Linked DNA regions of Homo sapiens: regions 1, 3, 4, 5, 6 and 7 are each linked to region 2. Evidence: promoter capture Hi-C in 16 types of primary human blood cells and fetal thymus (Javierre and others, 2016). All regions are on one chromosome and are shown on one strand. Each heading gives the region's core, a stretch centred on a gene start or on the middle of the fragment in contact. The rest is flanking DNA. Distances are from core to core; before and after follow the strand shown.

The links. Contacts are between HindIII fragments. The CHiCAGO score rates a contact against its expected background, and 5 or more counts as called.
Region 1: a fragment that was not itself captured here is called in contact with the fragment with the promoter of MMP14 in region 2 in 1 of 17 cell types (naive B cells); the score reaches 5.5 in naive B cells.
Region 3: a fragment that was not itself captured here is called in contact with the fragment with the promoter of MMP14 in region 2 in 1 of 17 cell types (total B cells); the score reaches 5.3 in total B cells.
Region 4: a contact is called between a fragment that was not itself captured here and the fragment with the promoter of MMP14 in region 2, in 1 of 17 cell types (total B cells). The highest score is 5.5, in total B cells.
Region 5: a contact is called between a fragment that was not itself captured here and the fragment with the promoter of MMP14 in region 2, in 3 of 17 cell types (naive B cells, total B cells and endothelial precursors). The highest score is 19.3, in naive B cells.
Region 6: a fragment that was not itself captured here is called in contact with the fragment with the promoter of MMP14 in region 2 in 1 of 17 cell types (total B cells); the score reaches 7.4 in total B cells.
Region 7: a fragment that was not itself captured here is called in contact with the fragment with the promoter of MMP14 in region 2 in 1 of 17 cell types (naive B cells); the score reaches 5.2 in naive B cells.

What each region holds. Positions count from the first base shown.
Region 1 is chr14:22,450,459-22,453,158 of GRCh38, reverse strand. All of the region lies in intron 2 of TRD-AS1 (TRD antisense RNA 1), which reads left to right. It also overlaps TRA and TRD. Among named protein-coding and RNA genes, the nearest start is that of TRD-AS1, 31 kb to the left of the region's middle. The HindIII fragment of the contact is 5,990 bases long and covers 1-2,700 here.
Region 2 is chr14:22,835,157-22,837,856 of GRCh38, reverse strand. It overlaps MMP14 (matrix metallopeptidase 14), which reads right to left and starts at 1,272. Exons shown (of 10, transcript NM_004995.4): 1 at 932-1,272. The coding sequence starts at 1,039. RefSeq lists a silencer at 1,398-1,614. The HindIII fragment of the contact is 13,873 bases long and covers 1-2,484 here.
Region 3 is chr14:22,405,951-22,408,650 of GRCh38, reverse strand. All of the region lies in intron 2 of TRD-AS1 (TRD antisense RNA 1), which reads left to right. It also overlaps TRA. Among named protein-coding and RNA genes, the nearest start is that of TRD-AS1, 76 kb to the left of the region's middle. The HindIII fragment of the contact is 5,358 bases long and covers 1-2,700 here.
Region 4 is chr14:22,485,183-22,487,882 of GRCh38, reverse strand. It overlaps TRA, TRAJ52 and the pseudogene TRAJ51. Among named protein-coding and RNA genes, the nearest start is that of TRD-AS1, 3.6 kb to the right of the region's middle. The HindIII fragment of the contact is 4,249 bases long and covers 1-2,700 here.
Region 5 is chr14:22,389,064-22,391,763 of GRCh38, reverse strand. All of the region lies in intron 2 of TRD-AS1 (TRD antisense RNA 1), which reads left to right. It also overlaps TRA. Among named protein-coding and RNA genes, the nearest start is that of TRD-AS1, 93 kb to the left of the region's middle. The HindIII fragment of the contact is 553 bases long and covers 1,073-1,625 here.
Region 6 is chr14:22,370,774-22,373,473 of GRCh38, reverse strand. It overlaps TRA. Among named protein-coding and RNA genes, the nearest start is that of TRD-AS1, 110 kb to the left of the region's middle. The HindIII fragment of the contact is 3,763 bases long and covers 1-2,700 here.
Region 7 is chr14:22,327,559-22,330,265 of GRCh38, reverse strand. It overlaps TRA. Among named protein-coding and RNA genes, the nearest start is that of TRD-AS1, 150 kb to the left of the region's middle. The HindIII fragment of the contact is 6,538 bases long and covers 1-2,707 here.

The sequences.
Region 1 (2,700 bases), core at 190-2,689, 380 kb after region 2:
AAAATGGCTCCAGGTGGAAGGACTTGCAGGTGCAAAGGCTCTGTTCTGGGAGATGCTGACTGGGAGTGAGAGGGAGTGCCAGATGCCAGGCCAAGGGCTAGTGGGCCTGGAGGAATGGGAAGGTCATCTTTTGGAATCTGAGAAACATTTTGATGAGGCCAGAATTATGTGGACTCCTTTTCTTGAGGGAAAGAGTGATGCTCTGATCATCGTCTGGACCTTTCTGTATTTAGGGACCCTGGGTCTCCAGGGGTGTAATGTGAGAGATGGGCCTCACCTGGCTCCTCCTGGGGAAGGGGAATGCTGCTTTGGGTAACTGGTTTTGGCGGGGGTTCAGAAGTTCTTCCTTGGTGAGAGAAGTGATGGGGATGGCACTGGAAGGGAAGTGGCATAACTGTTGTTTCTGATTCAGCTTGAAAAGGAGCTCATTAGAGACCTGAGGCAGAGGCTGGGCCAGGCAGGAAAAACCTCCACACATGCCCTAGTCTAGCTGCAGCCCTGATGGAAGAGCAGACTTCTTAAGAGCACAGATGCTGGCATCAAGCAGGTGATTCAAATGATGACTTTACTAAGCTGTGTGATCTTGAGGAACCCCTTTAAGATTCAGTTTCCTGATCCATAAAACGCAAGTCATGGTACCTCAATTCCACATGATCGTAGTGAGGACTGAGTGAAGTGATAATCATTAAAGGACTTAGCCCAGTGGCCTAATAAATGGTAGGCACTCAAAAAGTGGTAGTTACATAATTGTGACATACAATAATAGATTGCATTCAAAGTCCATCACATGGCCCACTTCCACGCAGATGTTCCCAACGACCATGCCTCTTTTCCCCACTGCCGCTGTTGTTACCATAGAAGTACACGTTTCCATTACTTTATTCCATGCTGTTTTGTCCTGTTTCTCTGTTCTGTTTTACGAAGCTAAGTGGTCTCTCCAGGTTTACTGTATCCAGAGGACTAAAGTGTGGGATCTACAGCTGTGGGTTTGTATAGACCTGTTCTGTTAGTTTTGTGCTACCCAGGAGCTCCGTAAGTAAGAACTTGAAAGAAGCTCCCAAGGAAAAAAAAAGCATCAAAAGGCTTCTGAGAAGATAAAGGCCCTGGGTTTGCAGTGCAGTCTCTTTAATCCAATGTTGGTAGCTTAAAAATAGAAGCTGCCATTCAAAGATATTCTAGGTTGTGCCCCCTCTGGATACCCCTTACTTTTTCACTTCAAAGGCTGATGAAATGCACCAATATGAAGTTCAGCACTTCCCAAACTTCAATTAAGCACATCTCCCCCGCTTTTTTGGTCATAGTCATCTGTCATAATTTGCTTAATAATTTAAAAAAATTTATTCACTTTTTAACTTAAAATATAATTAAAAGGAAACTTGAAATCACATGGGTTTGATAGCCTAGTTGTACTATTCTGATAGCCATTAAAAGATAGATCCATGCAAATAAAAAGAACGTCTCTCCATCTGAAAATATGTGCTGTGCACTCCGCAGTTAGGGAAATATGGACCAAGTAAATGGGTAAACAGAGGAACTTAATTCATCCCTTACTTGGCAAACAAAGGGAAATTAGGATAATCAGTCTTTAGCTTTGTTGGAATTGTGGATAAACTTATTTTAGTGAAAATTTTAAGGATAATAAGGTCTAAAGGCAAAGGCCCAAATTAGTTAAAATTTCAAAATCTTACTAAGATGTTGATTTTTTAAAAAAGTCTGAACATCTCTGCACTGACTCCACTAGCACAACTTTGGGTGTCTTTCTCCCTGACGGCAGGGCCCCTGCCCCTTTTCTCCCTGCAGTGTGTGAGGTCTTGGGTTGCTCATGCCTGTCCTTCCCCTTCCTCAGCCTCCTTGCCTGCATATGCCTGGAACTGCTTTGTCCCCATTTGGTCTCTGAGAAGAGCCCACCATCACCACCCTATCTCTCTAGAGCCTTCTTTTACCTTGAAAAACCTGAGCTGAGTGCCAAAGTCCCAGCCAGGGCAGGGCATGCTGTTTCTTTTCCAACAGCTGGTTGGGCAGATTTGGGACCACTGACCCCTATTGCTAGACTTCCCTAGGACCTTCGAAATGGGTTTTTGTATTGGTTTATTACATTTTCTTACTTAAGATTAATATGTACTATCTAACTGGAATCTGCTGCCAGGTGGAGACCACTGTCTTATTTTATTTTATTTTTTAGCAAGACACGGTCGAATTCAAATGTCATTGAAAGGACACCAAAGATGCCTTCTGTGTTGAGCACAATCCTTCAACAACCTTAGCATTGATTCTTGCATAACTGTTAATAAGTGACTGGCACCATATACTCTTTGCAAAAACGATGAACACTGGTGAGTGGTAGGGAACTCTCCTGGCTGTGTCCTGGAGACTTCAAAGCATTTCTTAGTTGGAAGCACTACACATTCACTTTGTCCTGCTTGGAATCTGGTCTCAGTGGGAACCAGAATGTCCCATATTTCTCACTAGTAACCTAGTTTTCATTTGCAGCTCAAACAATTAGAAACAAATGTCTGAAACAGGTTATTTTCTTCTAAAGAGAAATATCGCAACACCAGGGACTACTTGCGCTCGCCCCACCCTCCATGCCCAGGAGACGGATTCAGTTCTGAGCTCTTCCAGGAGGATGTGTTTGGCATAAGGGAGGTCAGAACGTTTGGAATCACGTTGGTAAAACCACCTGGACTCAAGTCAGCTTCA
Region 2 (2,700 bases), core at 23-2,522:
AGAGAGAGGAAAAACCTCCTCAGACAACTCCCACGCAGCTTCCTCTGGGGCCCGGTGGGCCACCGTCTGGGCCGGGGTGAGGGTGGGGGGCGCCCGAGCCAGCCCCGACGTGAGGGCACCCCGGACCAGACCCTCTCCCCATTCCCCAAGCGACGCCCCCAGGCTCCCTGCAATTAACACAGAAAAACTATTAACAACAAAAAGGGCCTGAAGGCGCCGACGCGGGTGGGGATAGGGGGAGGCAGCGACCCGGCCGATCGCCCGGCTCACAAGGAGAGCTTTGTGTGTACGGAAACGCGGCCAGCGCGCCGGCGCTGCGACCCTCGACGCCAGGGATGCGGGTAGGGACACAGCGGGGTCCTCTCGGGGAGACGGGGGCTGTGGCCCTGGACGCTCGGCCGTCCACCCTCGACCCCCACCTGGCCGCAGACTCGTCCGCTGAAGGCCTGGGCCACCCGGGGAGGCCGAAGCGCCCATCGGAGGGCGCGCCGGCGGGAGAGCGCTGGAGAGCTGGGAAGTCGAAGAAACAACAAACTCTCGCGCATGACGAGGAGCCGGGACAGCGCGGGGTTTGAGCGGAGTCCAAATGTTTATCAGGCGGTTCCAGAGCTGAGAGCAGAGCCCAAGGGAATCGGGGAAGGGGGAGTTCGCCCCAGTTGTAAAGTTCTTCCAAGGACTGGGAAAAAAGAAGGAATGGGAAGGAGAGTCGGCGGCGCAGGGGGTGGGGGCAGCTGGTTGGAAGCGGGCAAAAGTTGGATCGATCTGGAAGTTTGGAGACGAAGAGGAAAAAGAAAGGGAGGGGGAATCCTGCAGGCCTGAGCAGCGGAGATCCCAAAAGCCCTCCTCTCCGAATAGAGGCTGTCCCCTAGGAGACCCCCGGGCTCGCCTCCCGGCGGGCGCGACTCCGGGAAGGGCCGGGAAGCTCACTTACTTCGGGGCTGAAGCTGCTGCTTTGGGCCGAGCCGAGGGAGGCGAGCGCGGTGCCGAGCGTGAGCAGGGGGAGCAGGAGACAACGGGGGGGTCTTGGGGCGGGAGACATGGTCCGAGACCACCGGGTCAGCCGGGCAGTGTGGGCTCCGCGGCCGGGCCCACGCCCTGGGGTCGCACCGCCACTCCCTCGGGGCGCCTTTGTCTTCGGTAGGCACTGAACTTGAATTCCTAGACCGCTGTCGGCTTGGAGTTAAAGGGGATTGTTCCTCAAAGTGCCTGTTTGCTCTTCTCCTCTTTTCCGGTTTTTGATCTTTCTTCTGCTTAGTCGGCGAACTGGGGTCTGGTTCCCTCTCTCGCTCTCTCCTCTGGTCCCTCCCTTCTCCCACAGCCTCTCCTCCGTCCCCGCCCCAGTGCCCTCCTTTCCTGGTTGGGGACGTGGTTGTTTTAGCCTGAATCCAATTACAACCAAGAACTGGAAGGAAAAAAAAAAAAAACACCTCTAAGTTGCCTTTTTGTGGTGCAGGCTGCCATCTGCAGGGGTTGAGGCCGCGATGGACAGCAGGGGGCTGTAGGGGGATCCAGGGGACGGGATGTGGGAGACTTTGTCCCTATAAGCATATTCTGAGTGGCTTGATTCCTCTGGTATTCAGCATTTGTCTCACCTCAGGGTGGGAATTATTGGGGGCTATGTGGCTAGGGGCAACGAGGAGCTCAGAGTGTGGGATGGTGGTGGGGTCTTCTTCCATGCCCATGAGACCTGCAGAGGGAGAAGGGGCCAGTTTACTAATAGGGGGTTATCTTCTGGGCCCTGTAGACAACTGTCTATGTCCCTCCCTCTGCTGCTAAAAAATCCAAACTATAACCCAACTACCAACAACAAACCCCACAACCATACCGGATCTGTGGCTCCAACCTTTGTAGAAAGACAAAGGTGATTCCTTTATTGTCATTTGTAATGTGGCTGCACCTTTAATTGGAACTCGCTGGGAGGAAAAGGGTACAAGGCCGTGGGATCTGGGGGAAAGCAAATCAAGTTGGGTGAAATTATTGTAAAAGAAGGGATTGGGAGTTGGGACTCTGGGGTTTAGTTCCACCTCTACACTGAAAAAGGAGGCAATTCTTAAAGAGTTATAATCTCCTTTAGGGACTTACTGGACTCAGAACAAAAGGTGGAGGTATGTAGGGAAGGGAGAGGGCAGGATAAAGCTGACCGTGAGAAAGGGAGACAGATGAGTTGGGAACTAGACAGGTCTGGAAAAGAAGCACAACAGAAGCAGGAAAAGTGTGGGAGACAGAAAACTAGACTATCAGCGAAATCTAAGATCCAAGAATTGCATTTGGCCAGTGAGAGAGGACAGAGGTAGTGCGAGGAGGAAGGGAGAAGAAAGCAAAGGAAGGAATAGAGGAGGGTGGACAGAAATTAGGTCAGGTAGGAAGCTCCAGAAATCCTAGGGATGCACTTCTGTGGCAGAAGAATAGAAGTCTAGTGCTCAGTATTGTAATGAAAACAAAGGTCTTTTGCCCTCAGATTCATGATCAATAAAATGAAAAGCTTTTCAGGTCCTGTGGAGCCTCCAGGTTTGTGGGAGGTATATGGTGTGTGTTATTAAACAGCTACCTACCCCACAGTGACTGAGGGCTGAGCCCTTATGTAGGGCTTTCCTACACAAGCTGGGGTTGGGAGGTACAGGCCCCTCTTCAACCAATCTCTGGAATGCATTCAGAACCATGGAGACCTCAGGACCCCACTCTCGGCAGAACACGCAACAC
Region 3 (2,700 bases), core at 72-2,571, 430 kb after region 2:
CTCATGAGAAAATAGGCATAATCAAATTAATAAAATATTACAAACTGATATATGAAAGCATTAAAGAATAAACAACCTGAAATTGTTAGGAGATCTCAAGATGCCTCTGAAAAGCGGATGTGTAGGCTTTGATCTTTTTTGTTTAACTCCTTTCAATAGGAGTTAAACAGGGGATGAGGAGTGGGAGAAGTGTTGCAAAGACCCTGGGGTGGGAAGGCACCCGGTACATTCAAGTATTTAATAGATGGAAGAAGGCATGTTTGGAAAATGAGGGAGAGAAGAGTGAGAGGTATGGCAGAAGAGGTGAGGAGTCAGACTGTGCAAGGTCTTAGAGGACTTTTAGGGATTTTGGTCATTTGCCTATCTGCAATGGGAAGTTACTCAAGGATTTTTAATCAGGGGCATGACATGATCATATTTGTATTTTGGAGAGATCACTCTGGCTGCTGTGGGGAGGAGATACTGAATAGTACCAGAGGCCGGCTAACTTACTCAAAAGGCTATAGAAACAATCCAAAGAAGAAAATGGTAGTTTTGACCTGGCTGGTGGCAGTGGATGGAGAGCAGTGGATGGGTTTGAAATGATGGTGTTATTCCTTCAGATAGGGAATCTTAGGCTAGGGCCATATTTGCAAGGAAGATCTTGATTTAAGTCTTGGAGTTGAGCTGAAGTGCCTTTGAGACACCCGAGTAGAACTGTTGGTCAGGTGGACACATAGATATTAATTCATGTATTCAACTCACATTTGCTGACTACCCGCTACAGATGAGTCACTCTATTAAGAATTGCATTGGTACAGGAAAATATATTGAACTTGGATGCTTCTCTCAAGGAGTTTAAAATTTATTAGACAGTCATGAGGAATGGTTATACAGGATAGCTATCTTTAAATATTTGAATATGCGAAGGTGAACTTAGTCTGCGTTGCTCTGGAAGGCATAACAAATATAAAGATATGAAGTTATGGGAGGCAAATTTTGATTTGGTATAGGACAGATTTTTTGAAACAAGAATTGTCATTGAAAATATTTGAATTGAGGCTGGGTGATCACTTACTCATTCAATATTTAGTGAACATTTAAACTGAATGAGGGGATTCCTACTTTGTTTTTAAGATCCTTTCTGGATTTCAAATTCAACGATTCTAATTTTCTGTTTAAAATTTTAATTGTTCAAAGTGAAGGTCACAATTTGGATTTCCTTGAGTCCATTTTCTTATTTGGACCCTACCTATATCATCCCTGAGAGCTTTCAAGATGGTGTAATGAGGACTTTCTCAAGGCTGTGGCACCTTCCGAATCGAGAATGTGTTATATGATAGAAGTAACATTCTCTTCGTTGCCCGTCTCTGGTGTCCCGTGATGCAGAGGAAGTGGCATATTCACATGGTTTCAGATTCCCTTATTTTCTCTTGCCTTTCACTCATAGTCATGGTTTCACAATGTTGGATGACCTCTTTGTGAGGGCAGCCAGGTGATGGCACTGTTCCTGAAGCCAGGATGCCTTCTAGCTGCCTTTGGGCATCAGACAGGTATCTTCTTTTTCTAGCCATCCAGCCTGCCCAATGACTCTTCTTGGGAGGCTGGTGAGAGTGGCAAGCCTATTCCTATTCTGACGTCAAATTCAAAGTCTTTTTGAGTGTTGGCAGACACTCTCTGGGATTTCTCTTCACTGCTCTGAACTCTTCCAAGTCAGCCCTTCTCATGATGGATAAGAATCACAGAAAGCAGAACAGTGGAGGCAACAATAATAAGAATTTAGTCAACTCTCAATTGTCCTTACCAGTGGAGGGGGAAGAAAATTAACAATACAGGCTGGTCACGGTGGCTCACGCCTGTTATCCCAGCACTTTGGGAGGCTGAGGCAGGCGATTCGCCTGAGGTCAGGAGTTCGAGACCAGACTGGCCAACATGGCGAAACCCCGTCTCTACTAAAAATACAAAAATTAGCCAGGCGTGGTAGTGGGTGCCTGTAATTCCAGCTATTCGGGAGGCTGAGTCAGAAGAATTGCTTGAACCTGGAAGGAGGAGGGTATGGTAGGCTGAGAACACGCCACTGCACTCCAGCCTGGGTGACAGAATGAGACTCCGTTTCAAAAAAAAAAAAGAAAGAAAGAAAAAAAGAAAATGAATAATACAAAAATAATAGTGGGTGTTCATATCGCTCATTTGGCTTCGGGATTTCTGCAGAGAAACTTGGTCCATGCCCTTACTATGCTAGGGCCTTCAGTGGCCCTGTCTCCCCCTAAATCTGAGGCTTCAGATGTTACATAAAATGCTTCCTTAATTACCTGCTAGTAAGCACAGGAATTATTTAAATTTCTCCAGGTTTTTTACTTTAATTTTTGTCTGGTTTCTTTTTTCATTGTGCGCAGACCCTCAGATTGTTGGGCAGTCCAGGTATTTTCTCCCAGGATTTCCTCCTCCTTGTCTCTAGGCTATTTTTCATGCTAACCCCAGGCCAACCTCTGGTTCTACATTACCCCAATCCATCACGGGCCAGAACTTCATGTCCTCATTCATCCTGCAGGATTGGACCACTGGACGCACACATTCTTGTGTCTCTTGTTCCTCTTCTTCCCAATCAGACTTAATCAGACACCAATAATTTGTGGATCTTTTTTTTTGGCTTGATCTTGAATTGAAGGTATGTGGCACAAGATTCTGGGTTTCCATGGATAATCCATCGTGGTGTGGTAA
Region 4 (2,700 bases), core at 125-2,624, 350 kb after region 2:
TGGGCAATATTGGTCCAACCTGCACCCTGCTCATTAGAACCAGACTTCACTTGGAGGCATCTCACACATTCAAGATGATCACAACAACTCAACATTCAGCCTTGTAGTGGCACTGGCATATTCCAAATCCACACCCACCTGGTATGGATTTATGCTGCCACTGAATGGAGCAGATACAGCTGGCAATGTCAGGTGGCCTCCTCCATACACACTGAGCTGGGATTGTGCTGTCTGCCTGACCAACTATGCCTGCACAAGGGCAGCTACTCCAGAAATATAGGGACTTGACTCATCCCTTTGGCATAAGAGGACACTGCCCTTGATAGAGATCCTAGGAAAACAGAGTGTTCTGCAATAGCAGCTGGAGCGATCATGCCCTTCTCTGACACCCACCTCACATCTCAGTCTTATCAAGCTGCAGTGAAAGACATATTCCTGCTTTTCAACTTTGTTTCCCTTTCTGTCTCTTATTCCTTTCATTTATCATTTCTGAGCACCCACGGGGCTTCAGACTCTCTTCAATCCATTTCCATTTGACTCTCTTAGAATCCCTACAGGAAACAGCCAAAAGGCCTGAAACGGGGAAGGGAGCAAAAGTACATAAGGAACACTGTGAGTTTAGGTCTTTCCAGCTTGCTTGGCTTCACAGTTAGTCATGTCTCCTTTCCAAATATCAGCTTCTCATAGCTGTCACGCATCTCCCTGCTTCAGGGAGTTTTACAACGACTGACAGAAGGAACTTTATGAATCTTAAAAAACAGTCAAGTTTCTGTCTCTTCCCAGCGGGGTGCAGCGGCAAACACACCAAAGCCAAATCTTTCTATCTGCTCTAATTATCAGCCAGGATACAAGTCACCACAAGGAGAAAGGTATTAAGCCGTGTATCTGAAACTCTTTGGAATTAATTGTAATCCCTTGCCTGGTGGTTTCAGTGACAGGGAATGGACACAGTGGATGTTTATTTCTGTCTATCCTTTCTCTCCCCGCCTCTCTCTCTGTAGTTTTGCATCTATAGAAGCAAAAGGAGATGACAGACAGGAAACAGAGAGGGATTTGAAATAAGACCTCAGATTCCCATTCAGGTTTCATTTTTTCCCTCTCCACTTTCATTTAAAACCCATTCTGAACCAAATACCACATACCTATTCAAACTCCGCTCTCAATTTTCCTCTTTATTGTGGATGATGCTGGTGGAAACGGCCTCGGCTATACCAAGAATAATTTAAGATTGAGGTAAGGAAGGACTTCTGACAGGGAATGCTACTAAACATTAGAACAGGTTACTCAGGGGAGTCATTTGGAAAGGATGACCTCCCCCTCAAAAAAGTTAGGGCATCACCTCCAGAGAAGACACTGAAAGCAGGAAAGATTCTGACTTTCCAGGGTCAAGGTCAGCTGTACACGCAGCAGGGAGACAGACCTAACAACTCAGGGTCCAAAAGAAAATCTGTGAATATTGAGGTTAAAGAAGAGAAAGGACCTCAGAGGACACCACTTAACTTTAAGCAATATCTGGTTCTTTAAAACCTGACACTGGGGTGACATTCCAGAATTTCCAGTATACTGCTGTGTCTTGTTACACTTACTTGGATGGACAGTCAAGATGGTCCCTTGTCCAAATGTCAGCTTTCCATAGCTAGTACCACCAGCATTAGCACTGCACTGGAGGCCTTTACAAGAACCCTAGGGGGACTTCTGAAGCTCGCAGACTTCCTCCTCTTTTAATTCTGGGGAGAATAAACTCACCCAAAGGGGCCTGGGTCTGTGAGGCTCAGTTTCATCCCACCAAAGGCTGGAAGACCATTTCCACCTCTGGTCCTGGGACACTGACCTGCTGCGTCCCCCGAGGTCCGGCTTCCTGCCTCCCATCTCTCTCCATTTCCTCTGGTTTTTGTCTTGAGGCTTACTGATTTCTCATGTTCAGCATCTCTCTTTCTAAAGGTCTCATTTCCATTTTACAGCATCATTTTCAGGACAATTTCTCTGATCAGTTTTCAAGACACGTCCTCCCCTCCCCTCGAGGTGTCACACATTTCTGATGACAATGAATTGATTACAAGGAGACAAGAGGAGAGTGTTCAGCTTTTTGGAGAATGACTAGAATTAGATGAGATTTAGACTGTAGCCTCATGAAACAGGATCTCCTGAGCTTCCCTTCATGCCCTAGCATAAGAAATAAAAATGATGGGCACATGTAACTGAGCTTTCACACAACGTAGTTTTTTTGTCAGTCTTGAATTTGGTGAAATGTAAGTAGTAGCTCACAGAAAAAAGTTTTTATCTGTGCCTTCTTACGGTGATTAACTATCCTGGGGATCATTCTGGGCTTAGCAAAGAATGACCTTTGTCCTGGAAAACCCCTGAAACCCAGGAAAACCAGGACATCTGGTTACTCCACAGTCTCACCTGAGGTGTTCTGACCTCACAGAGCAGCCCGGTGACCACAGTGGTAGGGTTAAGTGAGGTCTCTATTAGGGGCAGGCTTTTGCACATTTACTTGGGGTTCCTGTAAATTTCATCCCTTGACCAAATAATGCTTCTGTTGCCAACAGACACAACCACAGGAATCCTGGGAGTCACCCTGGCTGTGTCTGGATGTCACAAAAAATGTGAAGAGCAAAATCCAGGCAGTTTCATGATGTGGTGATGATCAAACCCTGTCCCCCAGGGGTGTGAAAAACAGACACCTCTTTAATAGAA
Region 5 (2,700 bases), core at 100-2,599, 450 kb after region 2:
ATTGTCCAGCAAGATGACCAGGCTCCCCTGGAGATTAGAAAGCATGGTGGTGGCAGTGGAGGACTGGTTGCCTAGAGCTGTATATCCAGTCTTCTCAGTCCACCCTTTTCAAGGTTCTAGGGAGACTTTGATCTAGAATTATTACCTCCAGGTTCAGGGGCAGTCCAGGAAAGAGCACAAATCTCCTGAAATAAAATTGGAGGGAAACATTTGTGCATAACAAACCTTTTTCATTAGATTTGCAAAGAGATCTAGGTCATAAGAAGGTAAGTCTGCATTTTTCCTGGGACTTAAATGTTTTCAGTCTCCTGTCTTACATCTAGGTAGTTCATTAACTCAGCCTTGGAGGGAGGTTTTCTTAACCTCAGGGAGTTCCCCCAGTTGGGTCAATGTCACTGAGATGTCCAGCACAGCAGGACGCTGTCTTGCCTCCCAGATCATGGATCTATATGAGTCAAGGCTGAAGTAGCCTTGGCAGCCAATCTGCTCTTGGCAAAACCTGAAACTAGTACAATGTTTGCGTCTTTCGTTTTGTTTCACCTTTGCACACCTAGATCACCTAGATCACCACTTATCTTATGGTGTCATGGAAACAATGGAGCTTCAGCCCCACCCCAAATCTTCCCCTGCTTTATTTCTTCTAGTTGACCTATGACTTGACTTACTGAACCTTCATCAAGCTTGAAATCCTCTCTGTTCCTGCCCCTGTTGCTCTCCTACCTTGTTCCTCTGCAAAGATAGAGAAATGAGTCAGAGAAACTTCCTGATCACGTTAAAAAACAAATAAAATACCTGATGACTAGTTCAGGAGCTGGGTAACTACAGCATAATGTATAAAAGGTTGAATTGCTCACATAATTGTCTGTAAAGTTCAAGCAGCTTAGGCCTTTCTGTAGAAGACCTCAGTCTTTACCCTATGCACAATTCAAACTGTGGTTCAAGTGCAGGAGGACTGAGAGTACGACACTGAGGATACCTTAGTGACAGGGCTCTTGGAAGACACCACAGTTATAGTAACTCTGCATGTGTGTGTGTAGCACTGTGTGCATGAGTGTGCGGTAAAAATGAAGCTTTGCGAAGTGAATAACTATGTCTTTCCTGCACTATCTCATAACCCCAGTGCCTCCAACAGAGTAAGCACTTGCTTATAAGCATATTGCCCCATAGTACAGTGGTTAAGAGATGATGCTTTGGAATCCAACCATCTAGAATTGTAGCTCTTCTACCATAGTTGTTCAATCTTAAGAAAGTTTCTTAGCCTTTCTGACCTTAGGTTCCTCATCCATAAAACAGGGATGCCTTCACTCCCACACCCAGAACGTCGATGAGGATTAGAGATGATGCATGTGAAGCCCGAGGCATTGTGCCTGACACGTGGTCACTGCTCAGTAAAGAGTAGCTGTTTATGCTATTTCCATGTGTGGGTATGTGCAGATCTCTGTGAGTGTATGAGAGCTTTTCATTTCAGAAAATGAAATGTGCAGGCATGGGGTGGAACTGATTCTCTCCTACATGTCCTTTGCCACTCCCTTCTATAACCGTGAAGACTTTGCTCAAGTTTCCAGGGACCAATGTGCTCTTGAACCCTGTCTGGAAGGGGAACACCTCTTGCATATAAATAAGCTTTCTGTTGAAATGGGCATGAAGGGACAGTGGCTGACCCTCCCCTTCTGCTGTGTGCCCTGATGCTCATTTGACCGTCAGCACCGCTGTCTTCTGCTGTGGACGATTGTGATCGACCCAGTCTTGGGAGCTGCCAATGCAACAGAGAATTAGAGCCTTTGTATTCAATCATCATTGAGAGCCTATTAGGAGGACAAGGTACCATGTGGCTACTCAAAAGGCTGAGAGTCTGGAAATGGCCATGACAGAGGAAAATCCTTTCACTTGGCTGATGGAGGCCAGGTCTATAGCTTTAAGGCAATTGGCACAGATGCTGAGCGAGGGGGGTGCATTCATTTTGTGCTCAATAAAACAACTTTTATTCAGGGATGTGAATTGTTATCTCCTCGGGAAAGGTGAAGGTACAGAAACAGGTTGTAATTCCTTGGAGAATCTAATTCCCTTGTAGCTGGAGACAGAAAGACAGTGAGAGGGAGGGAGAGAGATAGATGAAAGAAGCTCTGTTATCCTAGGAAGTCCTAGGTAATTACCCAGCCTGAATTTCTCCTGGAGCTTCAGGATGGTACCAGATGTGTCCAGGCCCTCTGTGCGCCACCCCACAGAGCTAGCAACCAGAGTCCGTCTCCTCCTCCCGTGGCTGTTCTTCATGTCTGGGAACACATCAAAGGAGGTTTGATGTTCATAACTGCTGTGAGTCATTTTCACATGGAGCTGCGGGGAGCTGCCTGTACTGCTGCATGCTGTATAGCCCTTTGTGAGCGCAGCTGAGCTGAACCAATCCCCTATTATGGGTGAGAGTAGATTCCTCCTGGGAGACCTGGATTGGGTCCACACCCCTGTGCAGAATAAAATAGGACTTCTTATTGAGAAGTAGTTATTAAAACATCCCTCAGTCTTGGCTATGCACCTACACTGCCCACAGGGACAGCTCTGCATGGTCCTTCCACAAGAGTGTGGCCACCTCCAGGCCCTGCTGTTAGTGCCAATAACATCTGAAGCCTCACTGTTTGCCTCACTCCGAGGACAAAGGACATCAACAAGACTCCAACCACCACCCCATTGCTTCTCAATTGGAGA
Region 6 (2,700 bases), core at 63-2,562, 460 kb after region 2:
ACTTCGTTTCTCTCTTTCTTTCATCGGAAAAGGTACTGTCTGAGAGACCAGCACCATTTGTATAAAATAGATCAGAATGAAGTTCTCTACATTTTAGAATTCAGAGGGCTGAGGCCTTGGCTCAGTCTCCTCTTGGTATTCACCCTCATTCAGGGAGACAGTCTAATATAGAAATTGGGCCTTTTGTTCATCATCTCCTATAAATTTCTTTTTATCTCCAAAAGGACTCCTCGTAGATCTAGATTGATATCCTCATATTTGAGAGGAAAGTTCCTGTGTGCCCCTCTGTCCCTCTCCAAGCATCTCCCAAATCCTAGGTCAGTTGCAGCCATAAAGATCACCAGTGAACCCGTGGAGCATCTGTACTTTTCTTTCTGCCCACATTTGCTATCTTCTGAGATTTAGAAGTTGTGCTGGATTATGCTGGTCAACTTGCTTAAGCAGACAACTGCATTTCTCAGAATCCCCTTTCATGTATCGCTCTGTATTAGCATTGGCTAAGAGATGAAATGGGAAAAGAGTTAGAACACAGAAGTGGTAACTATTACTCTTAGGAAGTCACTGTGGTCACATACAGTGATGGACAGAGGGAGAGATGCTTGGTAGGTCCCATATAGTCCTTGCTTTCCTTCACTCTGCATCCAGCGAATCTTTCTGACTCTTGGCTCTGCTGAACAACAGTGACTCGAGACCCATCACCAACTACTTGGCTGTGGACCCACAGAAGTGGTTGCTACAGACAGGTAACCACTCTCCATACAGTTCTTCATGAGCTCCCCTTCACAGTCCCACTTTGGTGGTTGAAAGTGTTTAGCTTCCTAGATTTCCCCCAAGCCCCAGCCTGTCTGGTCCATCTGTGCTACTGCATAAGATAGACAGGTTAATGACCCTTTTTCTGATCTTCTGACTCCTTCTTCCAGACCTTTCCTTCTCTAGCTTCTCTCACATTTGTAAGGTCTGATTCCACAACGAATCCACTATTCCTATATTCTGTATCATTCACAGTGGTTCTGCTTCCCTGACTGACTCTTAACTGACACAACTATTGGTGTTGGAAGTGAATCCAGAGATAGAATTTTAAGGATGGGAATTTGGTGTTGATTCTCTGATTCGATGAAGCATTAGTGACTATACTGCCAATGGTAAATGGGACACAGTAGTCCTTGATATCAAGTGCTTATAGAAGGCAAGGTGTTAGATTACCAGGTAGATGCTGCCATAGACCAATGTAGTGGAAGTAAGGAGTATGAGGACTGGAGTTTGTGGGTTGCTTCAAAGTGTCACAGAGAATATGGAGAAAAAGAAATAAACTCAGAGTGTTGAATGTTCAGTTCAAGATGCAGGCAAGGGACTGAAAAGTCTTTGTGACTACTCTGAAAGAAACTCTTATCTCTCATAGCTGCAAGATCTGATATTTCAAAAAACCAAGCCCAAAGACTGATCCTGCAGCTAGCTAGATTAGAACATCAATTCAATTGAAGGTCTTACAGTTAAAATTAGGGCTTTGATTGGGACAGAGCTGGCAGGCTGTATCAGGGCAGGAACAAAATGATGAGGTACCATGCCTGCCAAAAGGGCTGCAGGATTTTTCTAATTTATATTTACATTCCAAAAGTTTAGACTGTAATTTCTCCTTCTTTCCTCCCCTGAAAATTGAGATGGCAACATGTAGGCAGATTCTTTGGAAGCTGAGAACCTTGAAAGCCCTGTCTCCTTTCCCAGCAGAAGCAGCCTTTCCCTCTGAGGAGTTTAGTCCTCCCTTGATTGAAAAGGCTGTAAGGACTTACTCTGTGGAAAATTGCTGAGACCCCTCAAGACTCACCCCCAACATCTTTCACTGTTTGTATGCCTATAGCTAGACTCAACTCCTGGCAACCCATATCAGGGCAGGAACAAAATGATGAGGTACCCTGCCTGCCAAAAGGACTGCAGGATTTTTTCTAATTTATATTTACATTCCAAAAGTTTAGACTGTAATTTCTCTTTCTTTCCTTCCCTGAAAAGACCTAAAGCCATTTGCCAAGGTCATAGTGCATTTGGGAAGGGTAAATAACCAGACCTTTGGGGGATTTCTGGACATTGGCTCTGAAATGATACCAGTCCTTGGAGACACAATATGCTACTATTGCCTATTTACCAGAGTAGGGGTTTATTGAAGCTGAATGATTAATGGTATTTTGGCTCAGGTCCATCTCATATTGCATCCAGTTAGCTCTGAACTTACCCCATGGTTATTTCCCAAGTTCTAGAATGCTTAACTGAAGGAGGCACACTCAGGAAAGGCAGAATAACTACATTGATTATCTGATCTGAGGAGTGAGGACAAGTAGAAGGCATTAGAACTGCCTTTGTATTCCAAACTAGTAAATCCACAGCAGCACTGCATTCTGTAGAGACTTGTAGAGATTAGTGCCTCTATAAAAGATTTAAAAGATGCAGGGCTGGTGATTTTCACCACACCTCCATTCAACTCAACTATCTGGCCTGTGCAGAAGACAGATGGATCTTGAAGAATGACAAAGGATTATTGTAAACTTAATCAGGTGGTGAGTACAATCACAGCTGCTGTTCCAGATGTGGTTTCATTGCTATAGTAAATCAATATATGTACATCTAATATATGAATACTGATATGGGAAGTCATTTTTTCCTCTATATACATGTTAGTAGAGACTATCAGAAGCATTTTTCTTTCATCTG
Region 7 (2,707 bases), core at 13-2,512, 510 kb after region 2:
TTAACTTTTAAAAAACTTTCTTGATATACTTGATTCACTGTTAAGGCATTATATGAACAAAACTTCTTTTATTCATATAGAGTTGCTCAATACAAAATGTAGCTACCCAGAGTTAGCCAAACTGCAAGGTTAAGGTCATAGACCTCCAGACTAAATCTACATAAGACTTCTGCCCCCAACTGTAAGTCGCTAGGACTCAACTACAAAGGGGAGATAAGTTCATGCAAGACCACTCTCACTACTGGCACCAATGGCAAGGTTGGGTATTTCCTAAATCAGGTTCCATAATTCACTAGAAAGACTCATAGAACTCATTGAAACCTAGTATACTTGTGATTCGTTTATTACAGAGAAAGGATACATTAAAAGCAGCCAAGGGATGAGATGCATAGGGCAGAGTCTGGTAGGGTTCCAAACGTGAAACTTCCACTGTCCTCAGGGATGAGTTACCCTCCCAGCATCAAGGCGTGACAATACCCATGGAATATTGCCAGTCTGGAAAACTCAGCTGAGCTTTGGTGTCCAGAGTTTTTATTGGGGCTTCATTATATCAGATGACTGATAGCCTGTGTGGTTGAACTCACTCTCTAGGTTGTGACACAAACCCTCCACCCTATGTTATATGGTTGGTCTTTCTGGCATGGCCAGCCCCCATCCTGAGACCATTGATTGTGGCCAGCCTCACAATGAGTCATCTTGATAGCAGAAACTATTAAGTGCGGTCCAAGGACCCCACCATCAATTATAAAGACATGCCAACAATTCAGGAAATTCCGAGCCTTCAGAGGTTATCTCCCAGGAACTGGGACAAAGACCAGACCTGACTTTGGGTAAGGCTAAATTTCTTGCTACACGTTAGTAGAAGAATCAGCAAATTCCAGTGTCAGGAATCTAAGTGTTCCCATTGTTCTACAGTGCCTGGTTCACTCTGATCTGTCACCTCAGCCTGGAACCTCAAGTTTGGAGGTGATTGGTCTAATGCTGCTGCTGTGCCCACTGTGTATACAGGCATCCTCTGCAGTTTTCCATGTTGATACCTGCTTTTATGTGAATTCTGTTTTTAAAGTCTTCATTTTTTATCTCCAGTCATATTGGACTACAGCCTCAGTTCCAAAAGCACTGCTTCATATGTTTTCAATCCTCTCCAGTCAGTGTTTGAATTAATGGGATTGTCACTAGGAACATCTACACTTGAGGGACAGCCCAACACAAAGTAAGATACATGTCTGATGGCTCAGATTCATTCACTCATCACTATTTGTCATACTCCTTTGTGCCAGGCACTATTCTGAACACAGAGCATTTAGTGGAACTTAGAGGTTAATAGGAAGGACAGATATTATACAAATAATCACACAGAAATACATAGAAATTACAGGGTTCTTTAAAACAGTAACACGAGGGGAACAAATTTAGGTTGAGGGGCAGAGAAGTGTTCATTGAGGAAGAGACATTTCATCAAGATTTAAAGAAGGATAAATATTAGCCAAGTGACTGGAAACCGTGATTTGATTTGAACTGGTAAGAACAACATGATGTGGGCTCTGAGTTTAGTCTGCACTGCTTCCCCACTCCCATGAAATGAGGAAAATATTTCTTAACTAAACTAGAAATTCAATGGCCCTTTTAATCCAAGGTCCTTACTAGCTCTGAAGGTTAGAAAGAAACCTAGTGAAGTAATGAAGAAACATTCCAAGAGACAATTTTGGAGAGTTTTCGGTATATCTCATGCCTGCGTCTGCAGCAACTGGAGACTCTTTTCTATCTTTTAGGATTTCCAAGCAAAGGAACCAGAAATCACTATAAACATGAAGTCATCCTCATTGGAATGAGCCAAGTGTACTGCAGTGAAAAAGTGAACCAGGTCTGATACTCAGCTTAAAGGATGCTGGAATGAAAGCTGTGGTGGGTCTCAGACTAAACACTGTGAGATATCTGTGTGCTAAGGGACAAGAAAGAAAGGAAATCGCTTTACCTAGTGTAAGCAGATCAGGATTTGGGGAGGCAGAAGGCTCATAGAATCATTGGGCAGACTGGAGAAAAAGATTCTAGGCTCGACTTCCAGGAGTGATGCCCAGAACCACCCATCCATCAGCCTCATAAGAAGGCTGCAGTCCTATCCCTATGCCAGCTGCCTCCAGTGCTGCCAGCAACAGAATATGCAGCCAAATGGGCCCAAACAGGAAGTTACTGCTCCTGGCCCAATCAAGAAGATGCTGTTGCTGCCTAACCCAGACCACATGGCCTCCACTGCCCCTAAACCAAGAAAAGGGATGCCCCTGCCTAACCTGTTCCTCATATGGCTCATCTCCCAATCAAATACTTGGCTGAATACAGATCTGCACCTTAGCTGCAAGGGAGCCTGGAAAATGTAGTTCGCAAGGCAATAGTCACAGCACTTGGAAGGATAAATGTAGAGATGGTGTTTGAATCCTTTCTGGAAGTGATTAATGACAACTGTTCACTAAAAAAGAATGCCTGGAGAGACACGACAGTAATTATAGGGATAACAGAAATATTCTTAAGAATTAGGAGTCCTCAGCCCTAGAAGATGAAAAATGCGATGAAATATGTGAAAGTATTTAAATGGTCACAAGAGAGAGTGAAATGAACTTTATAACAGTAGAAACTGAGGTTTGAAGTTGGTGAAAGTATAAAGACTTTATATCATACTAAGCCACATTCGTACAGGTGTCAGCATAGTTTG